Linked DNA regions of Homo sapiens: all the other regions are linked to region 1. Evidence: promoter capture Hi-C in 16 types of primary human blood cells and fetal thymus (Javierre and others, 2016). All regions are on one chromosome and are shown on one strand. The core of a region is centred on a gene start or on the middle of the fragment in contact, and the rest is flanking DNA. Distances in the headings are between cores, read along the strand shown.

Region 1 (2,700 bases), core at 13-2,512:
GTGAACAAAAGGCTTTATTAGAAAACCAGAAAGGAGGCTGGGCGCGGTGGTGCATACCTGTAGTCCAAGCATTTTGGGAGGCTGAGGCGGGAGGATCGCTTGAGCCCAGGAGTTTAAGACCAGCCTGGGCAATGAGTGAGACCCTATCGCTAAAAAAAAAATTTAAAAATTTACCCAGGTGTGGTGGCATGTGCCTGTAGTCTCAGCTACTCAGGAGACTGAGGTGGGAGGATTGCTTGAGCCCAGGAGGTTGAGGCTGCAGTGAGCTATGATGGCACCACTGCATTCCAGCCTGGGGCCAGAGCAAGACCCTGTCTTAAAAAAAAAAAAAAAAAAAGAAAAAGAAAAGAAAAGAAAGAAAAAGAAAAAAAAATACAAGCAGTGAGTGGTCAGGCTGTGGCTGTGGCACAGCACTTGGCTTTCTCCTGGGGGCACTGGGGAGCCATGGCAGATTCTGACCAGGGGTCAGGGTTGGGTTTCCAAGGACGCCTCTGGGTGTGGTGCGGGCAGGGAGACCAGCTGTGCAGCAAGACACCAGGTGGCCTGGGTTAGGAGGTGGGTCAAAGAGGGAGGGGTGAAGGTTACCAATCATAGATTTAGGAGGCAATTTTCTTGGAAGGAAAGGGTGGGGTGCATGCTGGCTTGCTGGCGCCACTATCAGCCACTGTCCCAAGGTTTTCTTGTGCGTAAACTCATGGAGCGTTCACCACCACCCACTAGGTATCCTCATTGCACAGCTGGGGAAACTGAGGCTGAGAGAGACACACTCGCTGGCCCCAGATCTCACACAGCAGGTTATAGGAGCCAGCATTCAAACTCCTGGAGTCTGACTCCAGAGCTTGGACATTTTCACGCCCCTGACTCCTTAAAGCTGGAGAAGCTGAGGCTCCCAGTTGGGGTGAAGTTCCAGGTTCAAGACCACACAGCCGGGAACTAGAAAGGAAGGATTGAACCCACACCTTACCATGGGACACGGCCCTGCCCATCCCCTCTCCTCCCAGCAGCGTGAGGGCTCGACCTCCGGGGAGTCCCCGTTCTGGGTTGGGCGCCACTCCTCCCTCCCTATCCGCTTCGCGCCCGGAGCTCTCTCCGGACTTTAACCCTGGGCCGCCACTGGTGGCGACGCTGCCGATAAGGGGAGGTGGTTGGTGCAGAGGCCAGCAGGGCAAAATTCCCCTACTCCCGGTGCCAGGGGAGTTACCCAGGTCAGGGGCGGGGGCGGGGGAGGGCAGGGGCAGAGGAGCGGGCGGAGGGGGAGGTGGAGGCATCTGCAGCTGGACAGAGAAGTGGTGCTTTGTTTCTCTGTGCCTCAGTTTCCCTCTTGGTAAAATAGGCATGGTTCCTCCTATGGATGTAAGAAGGACCTAGGAACCTTTGCAAGGGCAGAGGAGTCCGCCCCTCTGGTCTGACTGGGAGACAAGGTGTTCCCCAATCTGATGGTGGGGACAAGGTGGCCCAACACAGTGGGAAAAATAAGGAAACTAAGGAGCTCTCACCAAATCCCATGAGGGAGACAGGACTGTCCAAATCCAATGAAGAAGATAAGAAGCTCCAGTCCTGTGCAGCAAGAACGAGTGTCCAGTCTATATTTCCAGTCTGCCAGGGGAGGTAAGGAGCAACATTCTGATGTGTAAGACAATGTATTTATTTTTGTGAGTCAGAGTCTCGCTCTGTCGCCCAGGCTGGAGTGCAGTGGTGTGATCTTGGCTCACTGCAACCTGTGCCTCCTGGGTTCAAGCGATTCTCCTGCCTCAGCCTCCTGAGTAGCTGGGATTACAGACGCACACCACCACGCCTGGCTAATTTGTTATTTTTAGTAGAGACCGGGTTTCACCGTGTTGGCCAGGTTTGTCTTGAATTTCTGACCTCAGGTGATCCTCCTGCCTCGGCCTCCCAAAGTGCTTGGATTACAGGCGGGAGCCACTGCACCTGGCCAGGAGTGATACTTTGATGTGTGAGACAATGCAGTTCTAATTTGATGGGGGAGATGGGTAGTCCTAGTCTGATGGGGGTGTTGAAGGGCTCCCATGCCTTCTGGGAGAGCTGATGAGCTTCCAAATGAATGATAGAAATGGGGAGCCCCTCAAACTGGTGGGGAGACAAAGAGCCTGCTAGTCTGATGAGGGAGGTAAGAATCTTCCTGTCTGAAGTGGGAGCCAGGGTGCTCCCGTCTGAGATTCCAAGGTGAGGAAAGAGACGAAGAACATACTCACTGCAGCTCAGCCAGCTCCTTCCTGAGCCTGGGAGTCAAATGGCCCCAGGATGCCTGGCCAGGGAGCCAGGACCAAAAGACAGAGACGATTTGCTCTCCTGACCCAGGGGCAGTTCTGCCCAGCTCTGGGCCTGATCTACTTTTGGCAAAAAAAGACCTGGCTGGTGGTGTACGGGCACCACCTAGCGGTTGCCATGGGCACGCCTTCCATCCGGAGCTTGGGGAGAGCAGCTCCTTGGAAGACCAGAGAAGGGCTCCTTGGACTCTCTCCCTGGGACCTGGGTCCAAGTACCAAACTACCCCTGAAACTGGATTCTGTGCATCATTCCATTCACCCTGCATGTGGCAGCTGGGGGAGTCTCTTGGAAGTACAAGCCTACCTCTGTCTGTCCCTTGCTCACAACTCTGCAGTGGCTCCCTGGTGCCCTGGGAGGAAGTCCACACCCGGCCACAAGGCTGGCTTCTTCTGAACAACCCTATGCTTCAGT
Region 2 (2,700 bases), core at 55-2,554, 190 kb before region 1:
CTGCAACCTCCGCCTCCCGGGTTCAAGTGATTCTCCTGCCTCAGCCTCCCGAGTAGCTGGGCCTACAGGCGCGTGCCTCCACACCTGGCTAATTTTTTTGTATTTTTAGTAGAGACGAAGTTTCACCATGTTGGCCAGGCTGGTTTCGAACTCCTGACCTCAAGTGATCTGCCCGCCTCGGCCTCCCAAAGTGCTGGGATTACAGGCATGAGCCACCCTGCCCGGCCAAAAATTTGTTATTGGAACCCCCTTAGGTTGGGATACCGGGATGGATAGAGATCCTTGGGGATCATGTGGTTAGAATGGGGAGGAATGGCCGGACGCGGTGGCTCACGCCTGTAATCCCAGCACTTTGGGAGGTCGAGGCAGGCGGATCACAAAGTCAGGAGATCGAGACCACGGTGAAACCCTGTCTCTACTGAAAATACAAAAAATTAGCCGGGCGCGGTGGCGGGCGCCTGTAGTCCTGCTGAGGCAGGAGAATGGCGTGAACCAGGGAGGCGGAGCTTGCAGTGAGCCGAGATCGCGCCACTGCACTCCAGCCTCGGCGACAGAGCGAGACTCCGTCTCAAGAGAAAAAAAAAAAAAAAAAAAAAGAATGGGGAGGAATACTGGAGTGACCTGGTGGGGCTCAAGCTGCTGGGAATTGCCTTACTCAGCACTGACCTCTCCCAGAGCCCCCCACCCAGCTTACCCACTTTCAAGGCTGTCGAAGCAGGACAGCCAATCCCAGAGGTGTGGGCCTCAATACGTCATCGGTTGCTAGTGCTCTCCTGCGCAGATTTGGCGCCTGCGGGACTGAGCCTGGGAGAACCTGGAGACCCACCCGACCACGATGAGGCAACCACGACCCAGAAGGGGCCCCGGAGCTCTCAGAGGTCCTCTAAGCCGGGACCCCAGGCCTGTAGCCACCTTCACTCTTCCAAATCTCCAACTCCGCAATTCTCCCATCCCACTTTTACCTTCCAAGACGATCGACAGAACCACCACCAGGACCGGGAGCGACAGGAAGAGCCTCATGGCGAGGCCGGAGGGGCACTCTGGAGGCAGAGGCAGGGGTTCAGGGGATCAGTGGCACCCTCCTCCCTCCCTACCTCCCTCCCACGATCCCCTCATCTCCCTTTTTGAGTTTCTTGCAGAGTGTAGGCGGGTGTCCCTCCCAGGCACTCAGCACCAACCTGAATCCTTGCTGGAGGGCTTGGTTGGGAGGTCCTGTCCTGCCCGCAGGACCTTTATCAGGCTGGGGAGGGGGCGGGGCAGGTTGATGTTGATCTCCCTCCTCCTGAGCCTTCCCCTGACCGCCTGCCTCCCTCTGTCCACCCACGTTTTTCTCCTCTGCCCCTGTCCCGTGAGCGTTGGGGTCAGGTGGGGTCCCGGGCACTTCCCTTAGCCCCAAAGCCCCTCCCCGTTCAGCACTCTCACCTCTCAATCTTCCTGACTCTGTGGGGTCCTCAGACCACCTTAGTCCCTTTCCCCACTCAGAATGTAGCAGGAGGAGCCGCAGACAAAATTCCTCAGACGCTGAGTTAAGGAAGGGGTTTATTCGTTCGGGGAATGGGCAAGATTCCTGTCTCAAGAGCCGAGCTCCCCGAGTGAGCAATCCCTGTTCCTTTTAAGGGCTCACAACTCTAAGTGGGTGCACGTGAGAGGGTCGTGATCGATTGAACAAGCAGGGGATGCGTGACTGGGGGCTGCATGCACCGGTAATTAGATCGGAACAAAACAGAATAGGGATTTTCACAGTGCTTTTCTATACAATGTCTGTAATCTATAGATAACCTAACGGATTAGGTCAGGGGTCAATCTTTAACCACCAGGCCCAGGGTGTGGCGCGGGCTGTCTGCTTGTGGATTTCATTTCTGCCTTTTAGTTTTTACTTTTTCTTTCTTTGGAGGCAGAAATTGGGCATAAGACAATATGAGGGGTGGTCTCCTCCCTTAAGAAGACAGCCTTGTCCTGTCCCTGTGGCCATCTTCCCTCAGGGGTCTCCCAGTAATAACCCTGTGATCTCATCCCCCCCTCATTCACACCGTGTCCCTAGATCACCTCTTTCCCTCACTTCCCCTCTCTCAGCAAGCCTCCTCAGCCCCAACAACTTTTCCTTTATGTTGCTGGGTCTCCCAGTTGGCCCGGCGCTCCTACCCTGCGTGCCACCTCCAATTTATTCCAGACCAGCCCTTGAAGCACCCCAGACCACCGTGATATTCTCTGGGCTCTTAACTTCATGGTTCTCAGTCTCCCTTTTTTGGGAGGGGAACGGGTCGCCTTAGCTGGATGACACTGCAAAAACCTCACCTGCATTAGCCAGGCATGGTGGCTCATGCCTGTAATCCCAGCACTTTGGGAAGCTGAAGAGGGAGGATCACTTGAGCCTGGGAGTTCGAGACCAGCCTGGGCAATATAGGGAGACCTCATCTCTACAAAAAAGTTCAAAAATTAGCCGAGCGTGGTGGCGCATGCCTGTAGTCCCAGCTACTCAAGAGGCTGAGGTAGGAAGATTGCTTGAGCCCAGGAGTTCGAGGCTGCAGTGAGCTGTGATTGTGCCACTGCACTCCAGCCTGGTGGGACAGAGACCCCATCTCAAAAAATTAAAACCCTCAGCTGCAAAGCTCTGCGTGTATGTCCCTTCTTCCCTTCCACCGGGCCTCACCCCCTTTGGCTGGCTACCTCCCCCAAACACTCTATCTGCTTTTATTCACC
Region 3 (2,700 bases), core at 49-2,548, 230 kb before region 1:
CAATATTTGGAGCGCTGTGATTATGAACCTTATATATTACCTGGAAAAAGAGTAAGCTTTGCATTGGGATATTCTGAATATATAATTATCATTTTATTATCGGTTTCCTCCACTTTCCTCTAGGTCTCAGCCCTGTAACAGTAGCTCTCGCTCTAGGAAACTCTCTCTGAGCCCTTTTCCTATCCTCCCTTGCCCCCTCAGCTCCTCCACCCCATCCCTGCTCACTTTGTGTCATCACTGTCAGGGATGGGTGTGTCTCCCCAACTGGGCAGGCTGACCTGGGACTGTTGTGGTCACTGCTGTATCTCCAGCACTGCCCTGGGGATGATTGCCCTGGGGATGAGGCTCTCTAGGTGCAGAAGGTGAGTGACTTACCTCTCTGAGGGCTAACACAGGACAAGAAGGAACCTTAGAAAACTTCGCTCCTCAGCCAGGCGCGGTGGCTCACGCCTGTAATCCCAGCACTTTGGGAGGCCGAGGCAGGCGGATCACCTGAGGTCGGGAGTTCAAGACCAGCCTGGCCAACATTGTGAAACCCCGTCTCTACTAAAAATACAAAAATTAGCCGGGCATGGTGGCGGACGTCTGTAACTCCAGCTACTCGGGAGGCTGAGGCAGGAGAATTGCTTGAACCCGGGAGGCAGAGGTTGCAGTGAGCCAAGATCATGCCACTGAATTCCGGCCTGGGCAACAGAGCAAGACTCCACCTCCAAAAAAGAAGAAAGAAAAGAAAAAGAAAACTCAGTGCCTCATCCTCACTGTTACAGACAATAATGGTGTTAATAACGATTCTTTGAATGTGTAGGCCCAGTCTTTTAAGTCCAGGGATGAAGTGAATAGACTAAGACAGGGATTGAGGAGAGACTTTGTGGGGTCTGAAGCTTATGTGTTTTGTGGGCCTCTTTTTTTTTTTTTTTTTGAGATGGAGTCTTGCTCTGTCACCCAGGCTGGAGTGCAGTGGCATGATCTCAGCTCAATGCAAGCTCCGCCTCCTGGGTTCACACCATTCTCCTGTCTCAGCCTCCGGAGTAGCTGGGACTACAGGCGCCCACCACCACGCCCAGCTAATTTTTTGTATTTTTAGTAGAGACGGGGTTTCACCGTGTTAGCCAGGATGGTCTTGATCTCCTGACCTCGTGATCCGCCTGCCTCTGTCTCCCAAAGTGCTGGGAGTACAGGCATGAGCCACCGCGCCTGGCCTGGCCTCTTTTAAAAAGTACAAAATTGGCTGGGTGTGGTGGCTCACACTGTAATCCCAGCACTTTGGGAGGCAGAGGCTGGTGGATCACCTGAGGTCGGGAGTTCGAGACCAGCCTGACCAAAATGGAGAAACCCCATCTCTACTAAAAGTACAAAATTAGCTGGGCATGGTGGTACATGCCTGTAATCCCAGCTACTTGGGAGGCCAAGGCAGGAGAATCGCTTGAACCTGGGAAGCGGAGGTTGTGGTGAGCCGAGATCATGCCATCGCACTCCAGCCTGGGCAAGAAAAGGGAGACTCTGTCTTGAAAAAAAAAAAGTACAAAATGACTTGTACAAATTTAGGTAGAGGACCATGGAAAGCCCAGGCAAGTGAGGGGCTTTGAAACTTTCTCCAGCCTCACTGCAACCCCAACTGCGCTCTCAGCTATAAATACAAACTGCTGCAATCTGCTCTCCAAGTCTCATACACTGCAAGGGCCAATGTGTTGGAGCATGATGAGGTCTAAGCTTCTCATGAGAAGTGTGACCTTGGACAGGGCTCCTGTGGAGGCAGGTTCCCTGCAGAGCCTTCCTATGCTCTGTGGAGTGACCAAATAAATTCTGCCATTCCGTCCAGGCTTCGTGGCTCATGCCTGTAATCCTAGCACTCTGGGAGGCTGAGGCAGAAGGATCGCTTGAGCCTAGGAGTTTAAGACCAGCCTTGGTGACATAGCGAGATCCTAGCTCTACTAAAAATTAACAAAATTAGGTGGTGTGGTGGCATCCACCTGTGGTCCAGCTACTCTGAGGCTGAGGTGGGAGGGATGCCGGAGCCCAGGAGTTCGTTCGAGGTTGCAATTAGCTGTGATCACATTACTGCACTCCAGCCTGGGTGACAGAGTGAGACCCTGTCTCTAAAGAAATTAAAAATCATAATAAGTAAAAAATTCTGCCATTCCTGCTGTATGTAAGTCACAGGACAGACCCACTCTTCTCTCCACTAGGGGGCGCAAAATACTGATCAAGGGCTGTGATTTCAGGTTCTAAGGGAGAAAGGGGGCTGGGGATCCAACCTTCTAGGTCCTGAGGAGAAGGGACTGGGGGGTCCCAGACTCCTGAGTTCTAGGGGAAGAAGAATCTAGGGGCCTGGACTCTGGGGGCCCTGAGGGGAATGGGGTTCTGAGAAAGAAAGGAGGAGTCTGAGGCCAGCACCAGGATTGGTTGGAAGCCGAACTGGTCCGGGCAGTGCTTTGGCTTGGCTTGAGTCCGTGGGAACCAAGTGGACACAGCAGGGATTGTTACTCCAGGGTCTTCCCCTCCCCACCACCCCCTGCACTTGGCAGCCTCTGTTCTTCCCAGGCCCCGGGGACTCGGGGGCATTGCCCACAGTCCCTCTCCAGGGCCCCTGTTTTTTACTGGACTCAGCTGCCCAGCCTCAGGACCTGGGAAAACTGCCCCAAGGGTGTTGAAAGCCTGGCAGGAGGTTAATGCCAAGCAGATTAGGAGAAATACAAGCAG

What was found. The method cuts DNA at HindIII sites, captures the fragments that hold promoters and counts their contacts. A CHiCAGO score of 5 or more calls a contact.
Region 2: a contact is called between the fragment with the promoter of APOC1 here and the fragment with the promoter of CEACAM16-AS1 in region 1, in 2 of 17 cell types (naive CD8 T cells and activated CD4 T cells). The highest score is 5.1, in naive CD8 T cells.
Region 3: a contact is called between a fragment that was not itself captured here and the fragment with the promoter of CEACAM16-AS1 in region 1, in 1 of 17 cell types (total B cells). The highest score is 6.0, in total B cells.

What each region holds. Positions count from the first base shown.
Region 1 is chr19:44,723,745-44,726,444 of GRCh38, reverse strand. CEACAM16-AS1 (CEACAM16, CEACAM19 and PVR antisense RNA 1) reads left to right here and starts at 1,262. Exons shown (of 2, transcript NR_186815.1): 1 at 1,262-1,608. The HindIII fragment of the contact is 7,565 bases long and covers 1-2,700 here.
Region 2 is chr19:44,913,212-44,915,911 of GRCh38, reverse strand. APOC1 (apolipoprotein C1) reads right to left here and starts at 1,304. Exons shown (of 4, transcript NM_001645.5): 1 at 1,179-1,304; 2 at 963-1,040. The coding sequence starts at 1,020. RefSeq lists enhancers at 233-990, 991-1,750, 2,509-2,700 and a promoter at 1,165-2,291. The HindIII fragment of the contact is 4,871 bases long and covers 1-2,700 here.
Region 3 is chr19:44,951,246-44,953,945 of GRCh38, reverse strand. No RefSeq gene overlaps it. Among named protein-coding and RNA genes, the nearest start is that of CLPTM1, 2.8 kb to the left of the region's middle. The HindIII fragment of the contact is 829 bases long and covers 884-1,712 here.